2 separate regions of the Homo sapiens genome follow, and region 1 is linked to region 2. The links are contacts of gene promoters, found by promoter capture Hi-C in blood cells and fetal thymus (Javierre and others, 2016). All regions are on one chromosome and are shown on one strand. The core of a region is centred on a gene start or on the middle of the fragment in contact, and the rest is flanking DNA. Distances in the headings are between cores, read along the strand shown. Region 1 has its middle 31 kb from the start of SLC9A7. Region 2 holds the start of CHST7 (carbohydrate sulfotransferase 7).

Region 1 (6,972 bases), core at 600-3,099, 220 kb before region 2:
CTTTTCTTCTAAGTCACTTTTCAGAGGTGAGATGGAAACCTTGAGGTATGTTTCTGGCAAGTGATCTCCAACAATTTCTCTAAAGTATCTGATTAGAATAAGTAGGGAGACATTATAGGTAATAAGGTAGATATTTTCCTTAATCCAACCCCTAGAATTTAAACCATATTGAGCACCAGGAAAATTTCGCTCTGCAATTTCCCGAGGCATTTTACTTGTTACATTGGGTACATTATGACCTGTTGAAGATGGTGGTTTTCAGTTCCTTCCATTTAATGAGTCTTTACATTCTAATTAAAACCGAAAGTGGAATTCCTCACTTCTTCTGTTTGTTAATGATATAAATTATCTTAGCTGCTATGAAAATAAAAGGACTTCCTTCATTTGGATTGCTCAAACACTGATATTCACGCTCACTTGGAGGTATCTGGAAACATTATCTAAATGAGATTATTTTATCCAGAGAGAAAATTCTTAGCTTTAAAAGCTATTTAACTAAGATGGCTTGATATATTTTATGACTAACGCAACTGGGCCAACCTGTATCTTATGTTTAGTCAATGCAAAATGAAACAAAAATCCAGTGCCAACCAGATTAAATTGCAAAACATGCACACAGTATTTTGGATCAGGAACTAAACTTGTGTGGTTAATGACTAATTTCCTACATCCTCTGAGGCATCTACATGCTTGGATTTTTTTAGAATGGCTGGGCTTCATTTGTCACAAACTTGCCTCTTGAAGCAAAGCACACAGTAGACCTCCAAAAACTAGGCTTTAAATCTAGAAATTCTACTTTTTAATTCTTCCAAAGGAAGAATTTCTTTGAGTCATTTCCAGGTCCCTGCAGAGCCAAAAGACACACAGAACATATTCTATAAGCGTGCACAGGCTGTCCAGAGCATTTATCATTGCTCATAGTAAGCTTTGTATCCTGCGTGTTCTGGCTACCTAATTGCTTGGTAATAAATTACCCCAAAACTTCGAGGCTTACAATAACCACCTTATTATGCCCACTAATTTTGTGGGTCAGGAGTTCAGACAAAGCACACAGTGGGAGTCCATTGTCTCTGCTCCACGATGTTTAGGGCCTCAGCTGGGAAGACTTGATGACTGGGGTGACTCAGCGGCTGGGGGCTGGAACCACAAGGAAGTATCTCCATTTACGTGTCTGAATGTTGGCTGGGACCTCAGCTGAGAGTGCTGACTAGAACACCTCTATGTGACCTTTCCATATGGCCTGGACTGTCCCACAGCATGGTGGCCTCAGGATAATCCAACTTTTTACATGGTGAATTAGGGACTCAAAAGTCAAAGTCCCAGGGAAGAAGTCAGGAGCTGCCTCGCCTTTTCTGGCCTAGCTTTGGAAGTCATGCGGCATCATTTCTTCCTCTTTCTAGCGGCTACAAACCAGTCACAATCCTGTCCCAGTTCAAAGAAAAGGTGCATAAGCCACACTTCTCAATGGAAGAAGAATCAAAGAATTTGTGGACATATATTTATTTATTTATTTGAGACAGTCTTGCTCTGTCACCCAGGCTGGAGTGCAAGGGCATGATCTTGGCTCACTGCAACCTCCGCCTCCCAGCTTCAAGTGATTCTCCTGCCTCAGCCCCTCCCCCCACCCAGTAGCTGGGATTACAGGTGCCCACCACCACACCCAGCTAATTTTTGTATTTTTAGTAGAGACGGGGTTTCACCATGTTGGCCAGGCTGATCTCAAACTCCTGGCCTCAAGTGATCCGCCTGCCTGGGCTCCCAAAGTGCTGGGATTACAGGCGTGAGCCACCGCACCCGGCCTGTGGACATGTTTTTAAATTGCCACAACATGTTAAGCTCTATGTGTTTATAGCTGCAAAGTTATGTCATGATTCCCAAATAATAAATCAGACTGGACAAAAATGACGGAAAAAAAAGAACTCCAATCTCAGAGGTGACTGAAAGAAACACTGTAGAATTGCTGTCAGAGACTGAGCTTGGGGCCCTGCATTTAAGATTGATTCAGGAGGGCCGGGTGCAGTGGCCCATGCCTGTAATCCCAGTACTTTGGGAGACTGAGGTGGGTGGATCGTCTGAGCTCAGGAGTTTGACACCAGCCTGGGCAACATGGTGAAACCCCGTCTCTACTAAAAATACAAAAAATTAGCTGGATGTGGCAGTGTGCAGTTGTAGTCCCAGCTACTCAGGAGGCTGAGGCAGGAGAATCACTTGAACCCAGGATGCGGAGGCTGCAGTGAGCTGAGATTGCACCACTGCACTCCAGCCTGGGCGACAGAGTGAGACTCTGGCTCAAAAAAAAAAAATTGATTCAGGCAAACCTATAGGAGCAGGAACTTAAGCGTTTTAAAGGAACATAAGGTCTCCAAATTGCTGTCTGTGGTTAACACTGTCATCCACCTCTCAGGTCTCCCACCAAGGAGAAACTCGTCCCAGTTGCTAGGACAGCTATAGGTAGGCAGCCTTCAGCTCTTGGCCCTTTCAGAGATTGCCTCAGTTGCAGAGTCGCCCCGTTCAAGGTGATGACGCACCTCCTGGTGGCTCATATCCAGTGACTGATGGATGCGGGAATATAAGGCCTGGTCTTTTTGGCCCAGCCTTAGACAACTCTGAAGGGTCATTTTATTTCTATCGTTTCTCATGAGGCTGGTTGAGACCGTTGGGCCTATTTTGCAGCTTGACTTTTCTGTCTGACCTGTTCTCCATCCTTCCCTTTCCATTGCAGGTGTTGTCTGTAAGGACGCTCTTTAATAAATATCTTGCGAACTAAGCTTCGTCTCAGTGTCTGCTTCTTAGGGACCCAAATGTGTGACATTATCTGGACTCCTGAATTTTACCTCCATGTTATCTCCTACCAACTTTGCCCTTGACTGGGCCCAGTGTCTTGAATGCTCATACATTTTCTGCCTAGTCAGGTTGTCTCTCTGTGCTAGCTTAAGGTTTGATATGGCTTTACTCTCCATTCAGCTTTTATTGCATAGATTGAGCTTAGAGTCCAGTCTGATCATCCAACCCGTAATATGCTTTGGTATACACTTTGGGCGCTCAGTTTGGAGCACAATGCTCACCAACATTAAGTACTTACAGAAGACCAGGTCAGTAATTTAGGATAAGTTGACATGGAAGAAAAATGATCATAGTGTTTTAGACACTTTACTTATTTTACTTTATTTTTTTGAGACATGGTCTTACTCCTAACGCCCAGGCTGGAGTGCAGTGGCATGACCATGGCTCACTGCAGCCTTGACCTCCCTGGCTGAGGTGATCCTTCTACCCTCAGCATCTCGAGTGTCTGGGAGTATAGGCGCCCACCACCACACCCGGTTAATTTTTTGTATTTTTAGTAGAGATGGGGTTTCACAATGTTGCCCAGGCTGGTCTCAAACTCCTGACCTCAAGTGATCCACCTGCCTCGGCCTCCCAAAGTGTTGAGATTATAGGCGTGAACCACTGTGCCCAGCCTGTTTTAGACACTTTAGGAATCACATAGCCATAGGATTGAGGAAAGTCAAGAATTTGGTTCAGATGGAAAGAGAGAACATACAGATGATGACTGATCTAAAGCATATAAAAAGAAGTTAGCAGGCTGGGCAAGGTGGCTCACGCCTGTAATTCCAGCACTTTGGGAGGCTGAGGTGGGCAGATCACCTGAGGTCAGGAGTTCAAGACCAGCCTGCCCAACATGGCGAAACCCTGTCTCTACTAAAAATACAAAAAATTAGCTGGGCATGGTGGTGGGCACCTGTAATCCCAGCTACTCGGGAGACTGAGGCAGGAGAATTGCTTGAACCCTGGAGGTAGAGGTTGAAGTGAGTTGAGATCACACCACTGTACTCCAGCCTGGGTGACAAGAGCGAAACTCCATCAAAAAGAAAGAAGAAAAGAAAAAGAAAAAAGAAAAAAAGAAGAAGTTAGCATGGTCAGATACACAGCTAGAAATCAGTAAATATTTTCCAGTGACAGAGGAAGGTTTTTGACTCCAGATCCCCAAAACGACCTCACTAGTGGAAACACAGCTGTAAATAACAAGTCTGAGTGAGGTAAGGTCACATCCAGCTTTTGAAAGCTCAGCAATTTGGCGACAGAGAACAGTTCAGACCCTTAGGCATGAGCACAGCCCTTATTTCCCACCCACGGCTCAACTAAACCAGCCTAGCCTGGGCCAGATGCTTTTCAGAGCTTAGAGCTGTGAGATTGGAATGCAAATCAGTGGCCCATTCATCTATCTGTGTCTTAGACCAGCCCTAGAGCTAATCCTGAAAGGATGTGCTGGGAGAGTAATGATGATATCAAAGTGATGTGCAAGAATGAAGACTGAGGTCACAAAATGCATTGCGGCCAGGGAGGGTGCCAAAGATTAGAGCCTCGCACCATGATTTTAGTAGACTGGTTGCATTAATGTTCCCAATTATTCACTCCTCCTCCTGTATCTGTACCTTTGACACGTAACTTTGAAACTCCTTTGATCGAAGAGACAGAGTATATTTCTGTGCCCCTTGATTCTGAGGCTAGCCATGTAACTTTCTTTGGACAATGGGATGTTAGCAGATGTGATGCATGCAGAGGTGTTTTTTGTTTGTTTGTTTTTTGGTTTTTTTTGAGTCAGAGACTTGCTGTGTCACTCAGGCTGGAGTGCTGTGGTGCGATCTCGGTTCACTACAACCTTCGCCTCCTGGGTTCAAGCGGTTCTCCTGCCTCAGCCTCCCCAGTAGCTGGGATTACAGGTGCGTGCCACCATGCCCAGCTAATTTTTGTATTTTTAGTAGGGTTTTGCCATGTTGGCCAGGCTGGTCTCGAACTCCTGACCTCAGGTGATCAGCCCGCCTCAGCCTCCCAAAGTGCAGGGATTACAGGCGTGAGCCACCATGCCCCGCCATGCAGAGGTTTTAAAAAGCACTTACAGGTATACACTTCTGCTCTTCCTCTTCCGCCCTCACCATGAGAACATGCTCAGGCTAGCCTGCCAGAGGATGAAATATATGTGGTGAATATATGAAAAATATATGGAACAGTCAAGTGACCCCAGTAGCAGCCAACGCCATCTGAGATAAGTTGACAGCTAGCCAACCCCGAGACAATAGAGTGATCCTAGTGAAGACCAGAGATATTCCCCGATTTGAGTTCAGTCTAAATTGTTGAGCCACATATTTGTGAGCTAAATACATGCTTATGGTTATAAGCCACTGAATTTTGGTGTAATTTGATATGCAGCAATATTGCAGAAATAGATAACAGTCAAGACTGTGTACATTCTGAGGATGTGCACAGAGATGAAGAATAGGTAAGCAAAAGCAGTGTCAGAGTGTCAGAGTAGTATTCATGGGTTATGCAGGGTAAAGCGTGCTTCCCTAGAGTGAAGCAAATGGTTCTGCCCTCTGCCCACACTCCATCTCCATTGCTATCCTTTCCACCCCTGTTTTTCAATAGTTATCCAGCATACATATTCTATATGTGTTTTCTTAGATTTATACCTAAGTATTTCATTTTTGGAGATAATATAAATGATATCGTTTTAACTTCTATTTGTAATTATTTGTTACTAATGTATAAAAAATAGAATTGATCTCTGTATGTTGGCCTTGTATTCAGTGACCTTGTTAAACTCACTTATTAGTTTCATGTCATTTTGTGGATTCTTTGGGATTTTCTATGTAGATAAACATCATGTTGTCTTCATACAGGGAAAAGTCTCTTCTTTTCTTTCTAACCTGTGTCCTTTTTTTGTGCCTAGTATAGTGGCTAGGACTTCCAGTACTGTCCCTCTTTGTAGACAACATGCCGAATAGTATATAATGATCACATGGCATTTATTCTTGGAATGCAAGACTGGTTCAATACTCAAAATTAATCAGCAAGGCCGGGTGTGGTGGCTGATGCATGTAATCCCAGCACTTTGGGAGGCCGAGGCGGGTGGATCACCTGAGGTCAGGAGTTCAAGACCAGCTTGGCAAATATGATGAAACCCCATCTACAAAAATACAAAAACTAGCCAGGTATGATGGCGGGTGCCTGTAATCTCAGCTACTCAGGAGGCAGAGGCTGGAGAATCGCTTGAACCCAGGGGGCGGAGGTTGCAGTGAGCCAAGATCGCACCATTGCACTCCAGCCTGGGTGACGGAGTGAGACTCTGTCTCAAAAACAAAACAAAACAAACAAAAAATTCAATCAACGGATTCCACTATATTAAAAAAGAATAAAAACCACATGACCACATCAATTGATGGAGAAAAAGCATTTGACAAATTCAACATCAATTTATTAAAAAAAAAAAAAACTCTCGGTAGGCCAGGCACAGTGGCTCACGCCTGTAATCCCAGCAATTTGGGAGGCCGAGGAGGGCGAATCATGAGGTCAGGAATTCGAGACCAGCTTGGCCAACATGGTGAAACCCCGTCTCTACTAAAAATACAAAAATTTAGCCAGGCGTGGTGGCATGTACCTGTAATCCCAGCTACTCGGGAGGCTGGGGCAGGAGAATCGCTTGAACCTGGGAGGTGGAGGTTGCAGTGAACTGTGATCATGCCACTGCACTCCAACCTGGGTGACAGAGTGAAAGTCCATCTCGCAGGGCAGCGGGGGGTGGGGCAAGGGGAAACAAACAAACAAACTCTCAGCAAACTAGGAAGATAAGGGAATTTGCACAATCTGAAAAAGGCATGCACAAACAAACAAGCAAAAACCCTATAGATAACATCATACTTAATGGTGAAAGTCTGAATGCTTAGGTTCACAGCAAAAATTTTAAATATATATATATGATAGAGATGAGGTCTCACTATGTAGCCCAGGCTGGTCTCAAACTCTTGAGGTCAAGCGATCCTCCCACCTCGGCCTCCCAAAGTGCTGGGATCACAGGCATGAGCCACCAAGCCTGGCCTCACAGCAAAATTAAGTGGAAATACAGAGTTCCCAGATGCTCCCTGATCCCACCCCACTCTAACAGCTCCCACCCCACTCTAACAGCTCCCACTATCA
Region 2 (6,812 bases), core at 771-3,270:
ATGTCAATTCCCAGTCTCACGGCTCATTATGACTGTTTCAAACCTTCTCTACTCTCCTCAGCCCTCTGAAACCTCCTACTTCATACAGGGGAATGGGAATGCAGAGACCTGGCTTCCACCTCAGTCACGCCTAAATATCCTCTCTCATCTCAGGATCTCCCTCTAAGGAGGCGCGAGGCTAAGCTGGAGATTCCGATGAATCTACCAAATTCTACGAGCAGGACTTTCCCATCCTCTTGGACCTGATCTGATAGAATGGGATCCAGCATGGTACCCTCCCCCCTACACTTCCCCCTCCCCAGGCCATTCCAGGCTCCCGGAAGACCAGTCCCGGTCCCTGCCTTGCCCCGGGCCACCTTACCCGGATCCGTGCCGGGGACAGGGATGGGAGGCTACGTGGCGCCGTCGGCATCCATCTCCAGCGGCGTCTCCCCTTCCCTGGGCTGCTCCGCGTCGCCCTCCTCTCCGCTGCGAGGGTAGGCGAGCAGACGCATGGCTGGAGCGCAGGCGGCCTCCACCTGGCGCACCTGCTCTCGGCTCAGGCGCTCGCGCCAGGCGTGCACCGCCTCCCGGGCGTCGCGCGCTGACAGGTGGAAGGGCCGGTCGGCGCCGTAGGCCGCGCCGCGAGTCATGTTGAGCGCGAAGGCATCGAGCGCTGCGAGCGCGCGTAGCCCGGAGAAGCGCAGCAGGCGGCGCAGCTGGGCGCGTGGCTGCCGCACCAGGTCCTCATAGCGCAGCCTCAGGTAGCGGCGCCGCAGCCAGGCGGGCGCGCCGCGCGCGAAAAGCAGATCGCGCAGCCAGGCTTCGCAGATCACCTCGAGCGCACCGGTCAGGAAGAAATCGGCGCGCGGCGCGGCGGGCAGCGCGCGAGACTGGCCCCCGGGGCGAGCACCCACGCCGTGCGCCAGCAGCACACGGTGGAAGCGGTCGCCCCTCTGGCGGGTGCGCAGCACCTGGATGCTCTCGCGCAGCAGTCCCTGCCTAGACTTGAGGCGCGAGTTGTGCACCGCCCTCGGGTCGCGGAAAAGCTGCACCACCTTCAGGTTGAGGCCTGGATCACGCAACAGGGGCACCAGCACGCCCAGATCGAGCAGGCGCACGTCCTTGATGACCACCACCGGGTACTTTCGGCACTCGGCCTCCAGGGCGCGTATCGCCACGGGTGGGCAGCTGCGCTCGCAGGCGGTGTCCTCGACGAGGCCCACCTCGGCCCGGGCACGGGGTGCGCCAGGACACAGTGGCGGCGAGCAGATGACCTTGTTAGTCCGCCAGCGGAAGAGGGCGGCCGTGGTAAGATTGGCCGTGTCCGGGGCGCGCGCAGCGGGGTCCCCCGGCGGCGCGTACAGCCGCAGCACGGAGAAGTCGCAGCGGAAGAGCGAACGCAGCATGTCGCGCAGCGCGCCCTGCAAGCTCTCGGCGTCGCCCGGATACAGCGCCTGCCATAGATGCCACATGGGCTCATACAAGTAGAAAACGTCCGGGTGCTGGTTAAAGAGTTCGCCCAGGAAGGACGAGCCGGTGCGCCAGGTGGCATGCACGTAGATGTGCTGCTTCTCGCGAGACACTGCCTCCCCGACAGCGCCGCTGAGGTTGCTTGGGAACCGAGGAGACTGGTTCGCGCCCCCTTCCTCGGCGGCCCGCGCCTCCGCTCCCTGCTCGCGTTCGCCGGCCGCCGCCGCCTCCAGGCTCCACACTCCCAGGCTGCGCTGCAGGCCGGGGCAGTGCTCGGCGCCCTTGTCCCCGTCGCGGCCGCCGTCCAATACGGAGGGGACGAGCAACAGCACCAGCGTGTACAGCACCAACAGCAGCGCGAACTTGCAGTACTCTCGGCGTCGCCGCCGCCGGCCCTTCATCGTTCACCGACCCTCCAGAGCGGGTCGGGCGCCAGTCTTCTCCCGTTCCTCAGAAATCCCGTGCCAGGTCCGCTCCTGTGGCCTCTCCCGGCCCCTCTGCGCCGGGAGGAGCAGAGCCGCGGGGCCGCGCATCCACAAGGGGAAACTTGGAAGGCGGTGGTGCTACTGACGGCGCCCCTGCCCTCTCGGCTTAGCAGCCGGAGAGCCGCCTATTGGCCGGCTTGGCAGCCGCCCGCCCCGCCTTTCTGCCCGCCTGGGTTCGCCCACGGCTCTGCCAGATCTGGGCGGGGCTGTAGCGGGGCTGGGACGCCGGCTTACCCAGCCAGACCCCCACCTTTCCCCAAACCCTCCGTAATGAAGTCTTCATCAATGACTTCAGGCAAAGGAGGGGCCTGTGTGTACAGAATGTACCCAGTAAAGGGCCATAGACCCCACCCGGAGAAGGTCACTGCCTCTTCTGTTTTATGTCCCCTGCCTAGCCATCGCTATCCTAGGCAGATAAACACTCGCCACTATACATCCAGCGCCCCCATCAGCCCTGGAGTGGGTGTTACTGAGTTCCGGACTGAAAGATAGAAGATTGTACGTGGCAGAGCGGTCCAGGGGGGTTGGAGATACTACTGCATCCACGCAGCACATTTCATAAAGTCTAGCCTTTGTGAAATTCTAAGTGTTGTGTTCCTTAGGGTTTCACCAGCTGATGGGCTCTGCACATTTTACCAATACTCTGGGGCCCAGTTTGGTCATTTGTAAAATGTGAATAATTCTTAGTACCCATGTACCTCCTGGGATTGCGAGATTTGGGGGTTGTTACCACAGTATAACCCAGCCTATTCTGACACCTATGAGCAAAAGACATTTACAGAATCAAAGTGGTAGAATGGTGACCTTTCTCAGGAGCTCGGTGTTTAAAAGGACCCGTAAGAAGAAATGTGTACCCAAAGATAGATGAAAAAGAGACAGGAAGTCCAACAGGCAGATGAAGACTAGAGTTACTAAAATTCAAAACAGAACCAAAAAAGATACATTTTGCTCTGTTTCATCAGGCTAATGAATAAGGAAGTGAGAGCTTCCTTTCACCAGCTTGGGGAAGGTGTTGTAAAGTTAATAAAACATAGAAAGCATATCTACTTATCTCCACCAGGGGAAGGTGTTCAAATTGGAAGAGTGAGAACATATGCAATGCTCTCCACTGGTCTTTTTCATCACGGAAGCTACTCCACCTGTGAAACCACTGACTCAAGCATTTCGTTTTCTTTCCACAATTCCCCTCTTCTTCCAGCCAGTTGTTCAAATCTTCCCTATTCTCCAACCTCCACTTTTTGACCACCACCCCCACTTTCTTCTCAATTTTTCATATTCAGCTGAAAGATGCCATACCATTATTTTAATAACACTCCCTCCAATAAGCTAAACTCACGTGCCCTCTGCCTTTTCATTACTCATCTAGCAAAATCCCCCAAACCCTGCTTTTGGCTTTCTCTGTGCCTGCAAACACCACTGCGAAACATTTCTCCACAGGTGTGAGCCAGGCACAGTGGCTCACGCCTGTAATCTCAGCACTTTGGGAGCCCACAGAACAGATCAGCATCAAGATAACCTCATAATCATCAACCTGAAATGGTTGCTGAAATCTTAGGTTCTTCATGTCACTTCCCAGTCTCCAGTTCCATTATGATGATTTCAAACCTTCTCTAGTCTCCTCAGACTTCTGATACCCCTCTTCCCCCACCCACCTCTTCTCAGCACATGACCTTACTGCCTACTTCATAAAGAAACCATGTTAGACGATCTCTCACTTTTCCACTACCAAACTCATATATGCATTGACCTCTGTACACATCTCGTTTATAGCAAGGATATGATTTTGCAATATTAATCTACAACTTTCCCTTCTGTTTTCACTTTTCCCTCCTCTCTGGCTTTTTTAAAAAGCTTTGAGACAGGGTCTGGCTCTGTCACCCAGGCTGGAGTGCGGTGGCACTATCACCACTCACTGCAGCCTCAACCTCTCAAGCCCAAGCGATCTTCCTACCTCAGCCTCCCAAGCAGCTGAGACCACAGGCATGTGGACCACACCCAGCTAATTTTGTTTGTTTGTTTGTTTTTTGTAGAGACCGGGGTCTGTATGTTGCCCAGGCTGGTCTTGAACTCGTGGGCTCAAGTGATCCTCCCACTTCGGCCTTGTGCTGGGATTACAGGCCTGAGCTACTGTGCCTGGCCTCCTCTCATCTTTTAAGCAAGTAGGTGGCTCTGTGCTGGTGTGAGGGGAGAGGTGTGGCTGGGCAGAATGCAAATAGTTGCTGGTGTTTCCCGCTTCCCCCCACCCCCCGCCCTCCGCTCCAAAAGCCTCAACTCTGATAGTGGAAAGTGTGATAGGTTTTTTAAATAACCACAAAGTATTCCCCTCCTCTGTTTTGCCTTTGGGCAATGCCTTCCCATACTGACTCTGGGATGACCATGTGGCTTGCATTGGCCTGTGGGACAGTAGCAAACATGACACAGCAAAGGTTTGAAAAATACTCCTGCTGTGGGAATTGCCCTCATCCTGCTCTTTGGAACCCTGAGATCGGCTCGTGAAGAAGCCTGGGTTAGCAACATGGCTCAGAAAATAAGCCCTCCCAGCTGAGGCCCCCCACCCCCCAGACAAACAAGCCTGCTGACCGCCAGACAGGTGAGAAAGGAGATAGATCCTCGACCAGTGCTTCTCAAACTTTAATGCTTGAAGGCTCCTGTCAAAATGCAGAAAGTGGGCCTGGCCCAGTGGCTCACACCTGTAATCCCAACGCTTTGGGAGGCCGACGCGGGTGGGTATCCTGAGCCTAGGAGTTCAAGACCAGCCTGGGCAACATGGTGAAACCCCGTCTCTACCAAAAACACAAAAAAAGTTAACCAAGCATGGTGGCGTGCACCTGTAGTCCCAACTACTTGGAAGGCTGAGGCGGGAGGATCACTTGAGCCCAGGAGGTGGAGATTGTAGTGAGCCGAGGTCATGCCACTGCACTCCAACCTGGGTGACAGAGTGAGACCTCATCTCAAAAAAAAAAAAAAAGCAGAAAATGATTCATTACACCTAGGGTGGGGCCAGAGAGACTACATTTCTTTTCTTTCTTCTTCTCCTTCTTCTTTCTTCTTTCTTCTTCTTTTTTTAAATAGACAGGGTCTTCTCTCCCTCTGTCACCCAGGCTGGTGGAAGGCTGGAGTGCAGTGGCGTGATCATAGCTCACTGCAGCTTCAACTTCCTGGGTTCAAGCAATCCTTCTCATGCCTGGCTAATTAAAAAAAATTTTTTTTTAGGCTGGGCGCGGTGGCTCACGCCTGTAATCCCAGCACTTTGGGAGGCCAAGGCAGGCGGATCACGAGGTCAGGAGTTGGAGACCAGCCTGGCCAATATGGTGAAACCCCATCTATACTAAAAATACAAAAATTAGCCAGGTGTGGTGGCACATGCCTGTAGTCCCAGCTACTCGGGAGGCTGAGGCAGAAGAATCACTTGAACCCGGGAGGCAGAGGTTGCAGTGAGCCAAGATCGTGCCACTGCACTCCAGCCTGGGCGACAGAGTGAGACTCCATCTCAAAAAAAAAAAAAAAAATTGTAGGGTCTTGCTATGTTGCCCAGGCTGGTCTTGGACTCCTGGCCTCAAGCAATCCTCTTGCCTCGTCCTCCCAAATTGCTGGGATTACAGGCACGAGCCACTGCACTGGGTCCTGAGACTACATTTCTAATAAGCTCCTGGGTGCTTCTGATGCTCCTGGTCTGAGGACCACACTTAGAGTAGAAAGGTGCTACACCTTCCTGCCCTAACTGAGCTGACCCACCAAATTGTGAGAAATAATAGATGTAAGTTTTAGGGGTTTGTTTTGTAGCAAAAGCTAGCTGATATAAAGAAGGTGTGAGGGCTTAGACGAAATGTTTTGGAGAAGCAAAAGAAAGAGCAGCAGCACTCTAGTGCCCCCAACCCCACTGAGACATTTTCCTTAGGCTAGGAGGAGTGGGCAAAGGGAGAAGTCTATGGATCCTGCAGCCCAGGGCACCTGAACTCTTTTTCCTGGCAATGTGTCAGGGCAGAGCAGGAGTCAAAGAGAAGTGGCCACATGGTTCAGCTTGACAGAGATGATCAGGGGCACTGTGCCAAACCTTCCTGGGCCCCAGGCATAGCTTGGAAGCAGCAGAAGGGTCAAGTGACAGTGATGGAGACATCTCAGGGCAACTAGGTGAGCCAAAAACCCAATGATTCTAAGACCCCAGATCAAGAGTACATACAACCTTGGGAGTAGAGGAACCCTAGGAATTAATAAGGTCAATCAATGGTCTGTCATCCTAGCAGAAGGAAAACTCAATCAGAATTAAAGTTGTTTTCTATTAAGTGATTTCTATCACATCTAAGTTACTAGATCTGCTATCCATTTTTCACAATAGAGTGGTACAATAGAGTAGGCCCCGGTCCCTCCTATCAATCACCATTTCTCCTCCCTATTCAACTACACCCTCTCAACCAGATTATTTCCACTGATGTGAAAATTAAACAGTTTGATCTCTTTCTCTGTTTCTTCCTCTATCTCTCTCTCTTTAAAGTCCCATTTATTTGCATCCTCCTTTAGCATAGCTGCTGCTAACACATACAGTACCCTTGTGAGAATCAGAAAGTGCCCCCTCCAGACAGATGAATTGCAAGGGGGCTGACCCCATTCAAATAAGTACCCCTTCCTTCAGGCCACAGCCCCAGTCCAAGGTTAACAGCTTGAAGGCAGAACCTGGCCAGATTCTAGCCCGCTGTTGCATCTTTCTGCCAGGTACCCTCACTCTGCCCTTCTCCTACCCTTGTCCTGTTGCCACTGGTTTCTCTACCCACTCCTCACAGCCCAGCTTCTTAGTAGAGCTGTCTATACTAGTTCTCTCTGTGCTCTCATCTCCTACTCATTCTGTGGCAGGCCAGGTCTCCCTAACGGCTGAACAGG

Evidence for each region. The method cuts DNA at HindIII sites, captures the fragments that hold promoters and counts their contacts. A CHiCAGO score of 5 or more calls a contact.
Region 1: a contact is called between a fragment that was not itself captured here and the fragment with the promoter of CHST7 in region 2, in 7 of 17 cell types (M1 macrophages, M0 macrophages, M2 macrophages and 4 more). The highest score is 7.4, in M1 macrophages.

Annotation. Positions count from the first base shown.
Region 1 is chrX:46,786,287-46,793,258 of GRCh38, reverse strand. No RefSeq gene overlaps it. Among named protein-coding and RNA genes, the nearest start is that of SLC9A7, 31 kb to the right of the region's middle. The HindIII fragment of the contact is 1,843 bases long and covers 928-2,770 here.
Region 2 is chrX:46,568,973-46,575,784 of GRCh38, reverse strand. CHST7 (carbohydrate sulfotransferase 7) reads right to left here and starts at 2,020. Exons shown (of 2, transcript NM_019886.4): 1 at 362-2,020. The coding sequence starts at 1,853. The coding sequence ends at 393. RefSeq lists silencers at 773-832, 953-1,002. The HindIII fragment of the contact is 5,347 bases long and covers 1-3,790 here.